Regions from separate parts of the Homo sapiens genome. Here regions 1 and 2 are each linked to region 3. The links are contacts of gene promoters, found by promoter capture Hi-C in blood cells and fetal thymus (Javierre and others, 2016). All regions are on one chromosome and are shown on one strand. The core of a region is centred on a gene start or on the middle of the fragment in contact, and the rest is flanking DNA. Distances in the headings are between cores, read along the strand shown. Region 1 overlaps MANCR (mitotically associated long non coding RNA). Region 2 holds the start of LINC00705 (long intergenic non-protein coding RNA 705). Region 3 holds the start of PITRM1-AS1 (PITRM1 antisense RNA 1).

Region 1 (2,825 bases), core at 243-2,742, 1.5 Mb before region 3:
CGTGTGCAAAATACATTTACCCATGTCCCCCAAATTCTTAACCCATTTAAGCGTTAACTCTAAAAAATGTCACATTAATATCAACTCAAAAAGTTACAAATCTCATCATTGAAATGATCTAAATTAGGTATGGGTGAGACTCTTAGTTTTCATCCATACTGGGGCAAAGTCCCTTCATCCACAGAACTGTAAAACTAGAAAACAAATTATCTGCTTCCAAAACACAATGGTGGAACGTATGAGGTTGTCTCTATTTTGCCTTCATATTCTGAAGAATACATTTGTTGGATGTAGAATTGTGGGTTGGCAGTTTCTTTCCTTGCATTACCTTATAATATTTTTCAACTGTCTTCTCACATCTAAAATTTCTGACAAGAAAAAGATATTTGAAACATTTTTTGCATGTATGTAATATGCCATTTTTGTCTGGCTTGTGAAAACATTCTTTCTTTGGCTTTAAATACTTTGACTATTACATACTTGCTCATTTTAATGATGTTTGCTCACACTTGGAATTTACTGAGCTTCTATAATCTGTAAATTTATCTTTTACCTAATTGAAAAAGTTCAGTTTTTTTTTTTCAATAATTGTGTGTCTGTATGTCCCATTTTCTTTCTCTTCTGCTGTGGAACTGCAGTTACATGGATATTGGAACTTCAGAGATTATTTCACAGGTCCATGAAGCTTTGTTCACTTTGCTTATCAATCTTGGTATTGTTCAGATTTTAAAAAGTTCTGTTGATCTCTCTGACCCCTTTCTTTGTCAATTCTATTATTCTGTGAAGCCCAATTAGTGTGTGCTTACTGCATACATTGTATTTTTCCCTTCTTGCATTTCTTGTTTGTTTTGTTTTGTTTGTTTGTTTTTGTTTGAGACAGCATCTCACTCTGTCACCCAGACTGGATTGCAGTGGTGCAATCTTGGCTCACTGCAGCCTCCACCTCCCAGGTTCAAGCGATTTACCTGCCTCAGCCTCCCAAGTAGCTGGGATTACAGGTGCATGCCATCACACCCAGCTATTTTTGTATTTTTTGTAGAGATGGGGTTTCACAATGTTGGCCAGGCTGGTCTCGAACTGTTGACCTCAGGTGATTAGCCCACCTCAGCCTCCCAAAGTGATGGGATTACAGGTGTGAGCCACTGCACCTGGCTGATTCTTGCATTTCTGTTTGAGACTTTTTCCTAGTTTCTATTTGCTGATGAAACTATTTGTATTTTGATTATTAAGAGCATATTTCTTTTTACACTACTGAGTGTAGTTAAAATAGTTAAAATAATATCCTATGTGCTTATTTCAACATATGTTCATTTGGGTATTGTTTTCCATAGGTTGTCTTTTCTCTTGAGAATGAATGAAATATCCATTCTTTCTTCACCTATTGACTGGATTTGTATTGTTTCTTGAATACTCTGAAGATGTAGAGACTGAATCCTGTTATAATCCTTAATAGAGTATTGATTTTCTAAATTTTAGCGGACAATTATTTTAGACTCATGAACATTGTGTTTTGAACACAGCTCAAAATTCATTCCAAAGTGCTTTGATCCTGCCTTGTGTATGCATGGTTTAAGGTTGGTTAGTTAATTGGCTGAAATTTGTGCATGGGATCTGGGCTCCCCGTCTCTGGCCATCTCCTTTCTGGAATATCTCCCTCACTTTCTGGTGGAAATGATTATTTCAAACTCTGTTCTCCAGTTCTTTAGAACAGAAAAAGTATGGGTTTTCTATCAAGGATTTACTTATTAATGCTGACTGCAATCTGCATTGAGGCTAAAATAATTGAGAACACAGGAAAATTACCCCATGCCATTCTTTCTTCCAAATTGATTCCCTCCTATAATCTTTCAGCCTCTGCTCAATCTGCACTGCCTCCAGGCTACTATTCAAAAAATTTATCCAGGTTTCGAGTGGTTATTTGTGGGGAAATTGGCCTGGCAGGAGCATCTTTGGCCATGCCTGAAGTGGAACACATACAAAATGCTTTTTTGCATTGTCTTTGGCTGAAGCCACTAATATTTCAACTTCCCAAAATATGTCTCTTCTTCATGTATTAACTTGGGATTTTCACAATTCTTTTATAATATTAATTTGGACTACAAATTTGTGCGAAGATCGAAGTAGAATTTAATTTGTTGTAAAAAGCATTTTCTCCCCCAACTGAGTCCCATTCAGATGGCTACTTCACTTGGAGTATTTTTGTCCCTATATGGGGGCATTTTCTCTTATTATTAATAGTAGCTTTTCAATAGTCCCCAGATTTTGCAAGTATCTACTTGAAATTCAAGTATAAGCTTAAGACAGTAACTAGTCTCTTATCTCCTCTTCTCTTATGGGTATTTAAACCTCAACCATTTCACATTCTTCTTTTCATGCTGAGAAAATTATCTTACACCCAGTAAATATGCAGAATCTTTAAAGGACTGAAAAAAATAGGGAAATGTTTAACGTAGTTATCAAGGTAGGTACCTCACACAAGAAACTGCTTGATGATGAACATTTAAGTTTCAAAGCAGGAAAGATAGCCCTTGTGATGAAGGCGATTAGAACGTGATACAAATGACTCTTAGTTTTTCAGTGGACCAGAGCAACAGTTACTGGTTAGTTCAACAGGTGAGACTCAGTCACAAAGAGTTTACGGATCTCGCTGAAAATAATGAAGACAGGTACCATGGCAGAATCACTACCCTATACACAACTGACTCTCTGAGATGAGTGCCTAAACCACATGGCAACCAAATAGGTATTATAATTAGTTTGTGAGAAAGTGGTAATAGTACTTGTTGCAAATCTTGATGTTGTTTTATTAAACAAAACTAAAATAT
Region 2 (3,044 bases), core at 57-2,556, 1.5 Mb before region 3:
AAGAAGCCGTTATTGACAAGTGCTTTCCAGGCCAAAGGCAAGTGCCAGGGAGTATAGTGACAGTGGATTTGCTGCCAAACTGATGATTTTTTCTTGTTTTCTTTTCAGCCCTATTTGTCCTGGGCTCGGAATGTTGATGCAGCTATTTCTATTTGGTTATGGGTAAGGAAACGCTGCATTTATCACTGTGCCTACGTTTTCCTTCAAAGAGGCACGTGTAACTGTGTTCAATTGCAACTGAGAGCGTATTTTAAAAAGGAATTTGGCTTCAATGTCATTAACTGACCTTAAATAAATTGCTTGTGAGATTTTACAATATTAAACTTAGCTCAGAAGAAATGCTGAAATTAGTAAATAATGATTTTTAAGAACTTATATATGTCATCTTTTAAAAAACCTGCTACTTCAAATAACTTCAAAGTGAGGAAAAGCTTTTATCAGCTTTAGAGTTAAAATGCAGATGTTAATCGCAGGTTAGGATCTTGATAATTTCTAAAAAGACAAATGCAGCATTATTTGTAAAAGTACATACAGTCGTGTACAGCATAACAACGTTTTGTTCAACGAAGGACCACATATACCATGGTGATCCCTCAAGATTATAATGGAGCTGGCAAACTCCTGCCAACTCATCAGGCAGTCGCCACTGTAAGACTGTAGCAAAATGCATTAGTCCTGTGTTCGTGGTGATGCTTGTGTACACAGACTTACTGCACTGCCAGTCATATAAAAATACAGCACATACAATAAGGTATAGCACATAATACCTGACAATGATAATAAATGATTAGGTTACTAGTTTAATATGCTATAGTTTTTATTGTTATTTTAGATTGTACTCTTTATGTTAATATATTATTAAAAGGTCAGTTGTGAAACAGCTTCAGGCACTTCCTTCAGGAGCTATCCAGAAAAAGGCATTGTCATCATAGGAGATGCCAGCTTAATGCGTGACGTTGCCCCTGAAGACCTTCCAATGGGGCAAGAAATGTAGGTGGAAGACAGTGATAATGATCCTGACCCCGTGTAGGTGTAGGCTATTGTGTGGTTTGTGTTTTAGTTTTTAACAAAAAAGTTTAAAAATTAAAAAATTAAACAATATAAGAGCGCTTATAGAATACGGATATAAAAAGAGACAATATTTTTGTTCAGCTATACAGTGGATTTGTGTTTTCAGTGGAGTGTAATTACAAGAGTCAGAAAGTTAAAACAAAGTGAAAAGTTTATACTGTAAAAAAAGTTATAGTGGGCTAAGGTTAATTCATTATTGATGAGAGAAATTTTTTTGTACATTTTGTGTAGTCTAAGTGTACAGTGCTTGTAAAGTCTGCAGTAGCATACAGTAATGTCCAAGGCTTTCACATCCACTCACCACTCGCTCACTGACCCAGCCAGAGCAACTTCCAGTCCTGAAAGCTGCATTCATGGTGAGTGTCCTACACAGGTGCATCATTTTTATCTTTTATACCATATTTTTACTGTATCTTTTCTATGTTTAGATATGTAAATACCATTGTGTTACAATTGCCTACAGTATTCAGGACAATAACAGGCTGTACATGTTTGTTGCCTAGCAGCAGTAGGTGTGTAGTAGGCTCTTCTGTCTAGTTTTGTGAAAGTTCACACTATGATGTTTGCATAACAACAAAATCACCTATGGATGCGTTTCTCAGAATGTATCCCCATTGTTAAACGATGCATGGCTCTGTGTGTGTATGTGCAGGACTCTGTGTGTGTGGTATATGCATACCACATACGCACACATCCACACTATACTATGCACTCTACATATATACAACTACATAGGCAAATATAAAGCTGCATGTGCATAAATACACAAACAAACACACATACATATGTATAAAAGGTAATGTATTGATATTAATACTGACAATGTGTACTAAGCATATATTTATATACCCTTAAATGTATATTATTTTAATACATACTATATTATGTTATATACTAATACACTTTTTTAAAACTGAAAGAAATCTCGTTGCCAATTTGTGTTTCTAAATATGATGTCCATATTTTTTCTGATTTTATTACTATAGCTGTGATCACGTCATGTAACTTAATTTTGATGATGTTTCTCACAGTATAGTTTGAGGGTATCCAGCCTCAGATTATCTGAGGATGTAGCTCAAGATTTCCTAATTTTGCAAACAGCAAGCTTCCCAGGAGATTCTTAGATTCCTGCTAACAAAAGGCGGAGACTCACTGGACAGTTACTGAAGATAGACAGTAGGGGGCGGAAGGGCCCACGCTTCTTTGATATTGGTGGCTTTGGTTTTTCAGTGACGGGGGACACTTTGACTTCAGGTATGTTCTGCATTTAGAATTTTCAAATGAACGTTTCTTGTCTGTTCCCTTCTTTTTTCTGCCTCCAAACATAATGTCTATCATTGTAAAAGTAATAAAAAATCACTGAACAAAATTTGGAAAATACCAAATGAATAACAATAGAAATAAAGTAAAAAAAGAACCACTCAAATTCCCATCATCAAGAAATAAACATTCTGATAATATTTAATTTTATTTTCCTATATATATTGTGTGTGTGTATATATGTATGTGTATATATATACATATATTCAAAATGTATTATAACACAAAATGTATAAAATATATAATAGTATAAACAAAATTATATTATATATGTCATTTTCATGTCATATGTCAGATATAGCATATTAATACATACCCAGTTTTCTAAAATGCTGATCTCTTTGAAATATTCAATTATCAATTGTGTTTCTTTCCTCACTGAAGTTCCTTTTTACGACTTTTGGTAGTGAAGAGATAAAGTTCATTACAAAACATGCCAGGCTTAAGCAATTTTCCAAAGGGATTAACGAATTGCAGTGGCCGCAGGCTATGTAAAAATTTTTAAAAGGTGGTGTCTCTCATATTCTTCAGCATAACTTGGGTCACAGAAACCCAGGCATAAAAATTCATTGTGAACTCATATTCTACCATGGCCTGACACTGGTAAGTTATTTTGTTGCAAAAGCCTTAAGCAATTTGAGATGTCGAAGCAC
Region 3 (3,002 bases), core at 336-2,835:
TTTTGTAAACAATTTCTATTATTGAGGAGTCCTATGAACAATACAGATACCTATGACCTTAAACACAGACTGCTTTCAACATGCCCCATGTACTCACCTCATCTCTAGGTAAAAATCGAATGAATTTAGGCTGAGATTTCTGATAAACATGGTAGGTTAAGCCTTCATGAGGACAGATGCGTGAATGACAGCAAAGGCAGATCAAGACACGAAGCTACAAGGGAAAGAGTGGGAGGTGACCCGGAGAGCCATGGGGGCTGCAGGAGAACCTCGTGAGCCAGACTCTGGGTGGGTGGGGGGTGCCTGACCTGGGGCCACAGAGGGACAGGGCAGTGGGGAGAAACCAGGTGGTCCTGCAGAGCCCTGCAGATGGCAGGGCTGGAGGCCGCCTCACAGTCCCTCTAAGGAGTTTGTCTCCCCTGTCTCCCCACCAAGTCAGAAGCTCAGGGAAGGAGGCCCTGGGTTGAGCAGCCGAAGCCACAGCCAAGAGTCAGGGTCAGGCCTGTTCCCAAAGTGGCGTGGGGCGAGGGAGTTTGCAGCCTACAGACTGGCCCTCCAGCCCCTTCTTCCGAACTCTGGCTGCCCCTTGGCTGTGTTCATCCCATCTGGGGAAACTGGCCAGACCAGGACAGACTCACAGACGTGCACCTTTGGGGACCCGTCAGTTGGGTGTGTATGACACAGATATGTGCAAACATGTTATATCCCGGAAATTCACTTCCTGTGTCCTTGTCCCAGGCAGCTACCCCCATGAGGGACTAAACCAAGGAGTGAGCCTGGTAGAGAGGGGGAAGGCAGGCTTAGGCCTGGGCAGCCTGTCCTGATTGGAGAAGGAGCCGGGCCTCCGAGGTGCACGTGTGTCACAGAGGGTCACAGATGGGGAGGTGTGTAGGAGGCAGGCGGGAAGAAACGTGGGGCTGCAGTGGGGGCCCAGAAAGAGCTGGCTGTAGAAGTATGTGGTCAGCTGTTTTGTTCATTTATTTCCATATTTGTAGAAGATGAACAGATCTGTCTGCTATGCCGGCAGAAGAGTGGTGTCTGTTTCCACTATCCAACAGGAAAATGTAGACAGAAAACACTAAAAATGTGGAGGTTCCCCCTGGGCAGTGGGATTCCAGATCTTTTTTTCCTTGTGTTTTGTATTTTATAATCTTTCAAAAGTGAGCATGTTTTTAATATACAAGTAATAGAAATTTCTCAGGAAGGATAATGTGTGGACGGATGGAACGCCATCCCTGCCGGTGCTGGTGGAGACTCCGTCCCCCAGGGTCTGACTCCAGCCTCGCTAGTCCCGGCTGACGGCGCCCCAGCCACCCGAGTGGCGCTGGGTTTCTCCTGGAGGACCCACACGAGATGGTCGTGACTTCTCCCACCACAGCCCCTGGGAACACGCCCACTCCTTCCTTGATTTCCCACCTGGCCTATTTGACTCCCTTCATCCACTTTAGGAAAAGGCCTGTCTGTGGAAGCGGCGACCTGGGGCTGATCTCACCACGGGCGTCTTCAAGGAGCCTGTGTCTGTGCTGCAGACCCTCCCATCATTGTCTGCCCCGCCTTCTGTCGGAGGTGGATGTGTTCTAGAATCAGCTTGAATGTGATGTTACCGTTCACAGTGGAAGGCAGAGGAAATTGGCCCTGTTCCTAGAAATGTGCTTTATCAGAGAGTGTGTGTTTTCTTAAGGGATTCTTATAAAACTCACTTCAGTTTCCTTTCTTTCCATATTCTGATGTGAGACATTTAAATAAATGTTCATTTGCTCATTTGCCTTTATAATAGAAATAACCTCTTTCTACTTCACGAGATTTTAAAAATGCCACATGTGCATTGGAACAAGTTAAGCAGTGTGGTGCTGGAAGTGTTAAGATTCCCTCCCCACCACCTCTCCCTTCAACCCTGTAATCTAAGCCAACTGTTTGAAAATTGTGCTTCCTTGTGCTTTTTAGTTTTGGTTAATTGAAAAGAAAATCTCATGCCTGTAAGCTCAGCACTTTGAAGGCAGGAGGATCACTTGAAGCCAGGTGTTTGAGACCAGCCTGGGCAACAAAGCTAGACCCTGCCTCTACAAAAACTGTAAAAATAGTCAGGCGTGGTGGCACACACCTGTAGGCCCAGCTACTCAGGAGGCTGTTGTGGGAGGATCCCTTGAGCCCAGGAGTTCAAAGCTGCAGTGAGCTGTGATTGCACTAATGCACTCCAGCCTGGCGACAGAGCGAGACCCCATCTCTTAAAAAACAAGACCAAAATATGGGACCATAATTTATGCAGCATTATTTTACAACTCGATTTTCATTTTCACTTAATCCAACAATTACTTCATTGTCTATGCTTTTTTATCAGCCACGGTATTAACTTGCATTTTTTAATCATTTCAGTCTTAAAATCCTTGCACGTTTGATGACTGCCAAATTCTTGCATACAGAAATTCGAGAAAAAGGCGGTGCTTATGGTGGAGGCGCAAAACTCAGCCACAATGGGATTTTCACCCTTTACTCTTACAGGTGAGTTTTGCTCTAGTTCACACATTGGGATGCACACGTCGTTTTAGTCTTCTACTCATGATTATCAGTGTCATTTTCTTCTACTGCAGTGAATTTTAGACAAAAGTTGTTCTGTGTGCTTCTTTTCACTCCTTGGGCACTTAGCCACACCCAGCAATGTCCTTTCTGGCGCGAGGATTAGGGCCAGCAGCCGAAACAGGAAGCATTCTGCCTTCAGTAAACCCTGGCTTCAGCCAGCATATTTTGGCAGAACACGGTAGTGCCTCCATCCGTGGGTTTGCCTTCCATGGTTTATTACCCACAGTCCCCCTCGGTCTGAAAATATTAAATGGAAAATTCCAGACATAAACACTTCCTAAGTTTTAAATTGTACACCATTCTTCTAAGCAGTGGGATGAAAGCTGACGCTGTCTACGGTACCTGCCTGTTGGTCACCCAGTAGCCGTCTAGGTATCAGATACGCTGTGGGTATCCAAGAGCTTCTGTTCACAGAACCCTTGTTT

The links. Contacts are between HindIII fragments. The CHiCAGO score rates a contact against its expected background, and 5 or more counts as called.
Region 1: a fragment that was not itself captured here is called in contact with the fragment with the promoter of PITRM1-AS1 in region 3 in 1 of 17 cell types (monocytes); the score reaches 5.4 in monocytes.
Region 2: a fragment that was not itself captured here is called in contact with the fragment with the promoter of PITRM1-AS1 in region 3 in 1 of 17 cell types (fetal thymus); the score reaches 6.6 in fetal thymus.

The regions. Positions count from the first base shown.
Region 1 is chr10:4,673,635-4,676,459 of GRCh38, reverse strand. All of the region lies in intron 1 of MANCR (mitotically associated long non coding RNA), which reads left to right. All of the region lies in intron 1 of LOC105376373 (a long non-coding RNA gene), which reads right to left. Among named protein-coding and RNA genes, the nearest start is that of MANCR, 3.0 kb to the left of the region's middle. The HindIII fragment of the contact is 1,609 bases long and covers 688-2,296 here.
Region 2 is chr10:4,655,984-4,659,027 of GRCh38, reverse strand. MANCR (mitotically associated long non coding RNA) reads left to right here. Exons shown (of 4, transcript NR_024475.1): 3 at 1,303-1,427. LINC00705 (long intergenic non-protein coding RNA 705) reads right to left here and starts at 2,872. Exons shown (of 3, transcript NR_015425.1): 1 at 2,708-2,872. The HindIII fragment of the contact is 1,745 bases long and covers 434-2,178 here.
Region 3 is chr10:3,140,184-3,143,185 of GRCh38, reverse strand. It overlaps PITRM1-AS1 (PITRM1 antisense RNA 1), which reads right to left and starts at 1,585. Exons shown (of 4, transcript NR_038284.1): 1 at 1,417-1,585; 2 at 98-214. It overlaps PITRM1 (pitrilysin metallopeptidase 1), which reads left to right. Exons shown (of 27, transcript NM_014889.4): 24 at 2,374-2,499. RefSeq lists enhancers at 844-1,343, 1,344-1,845. The HindIII fragment of the contact is 14,067 bases long and covers 1-3,002 here.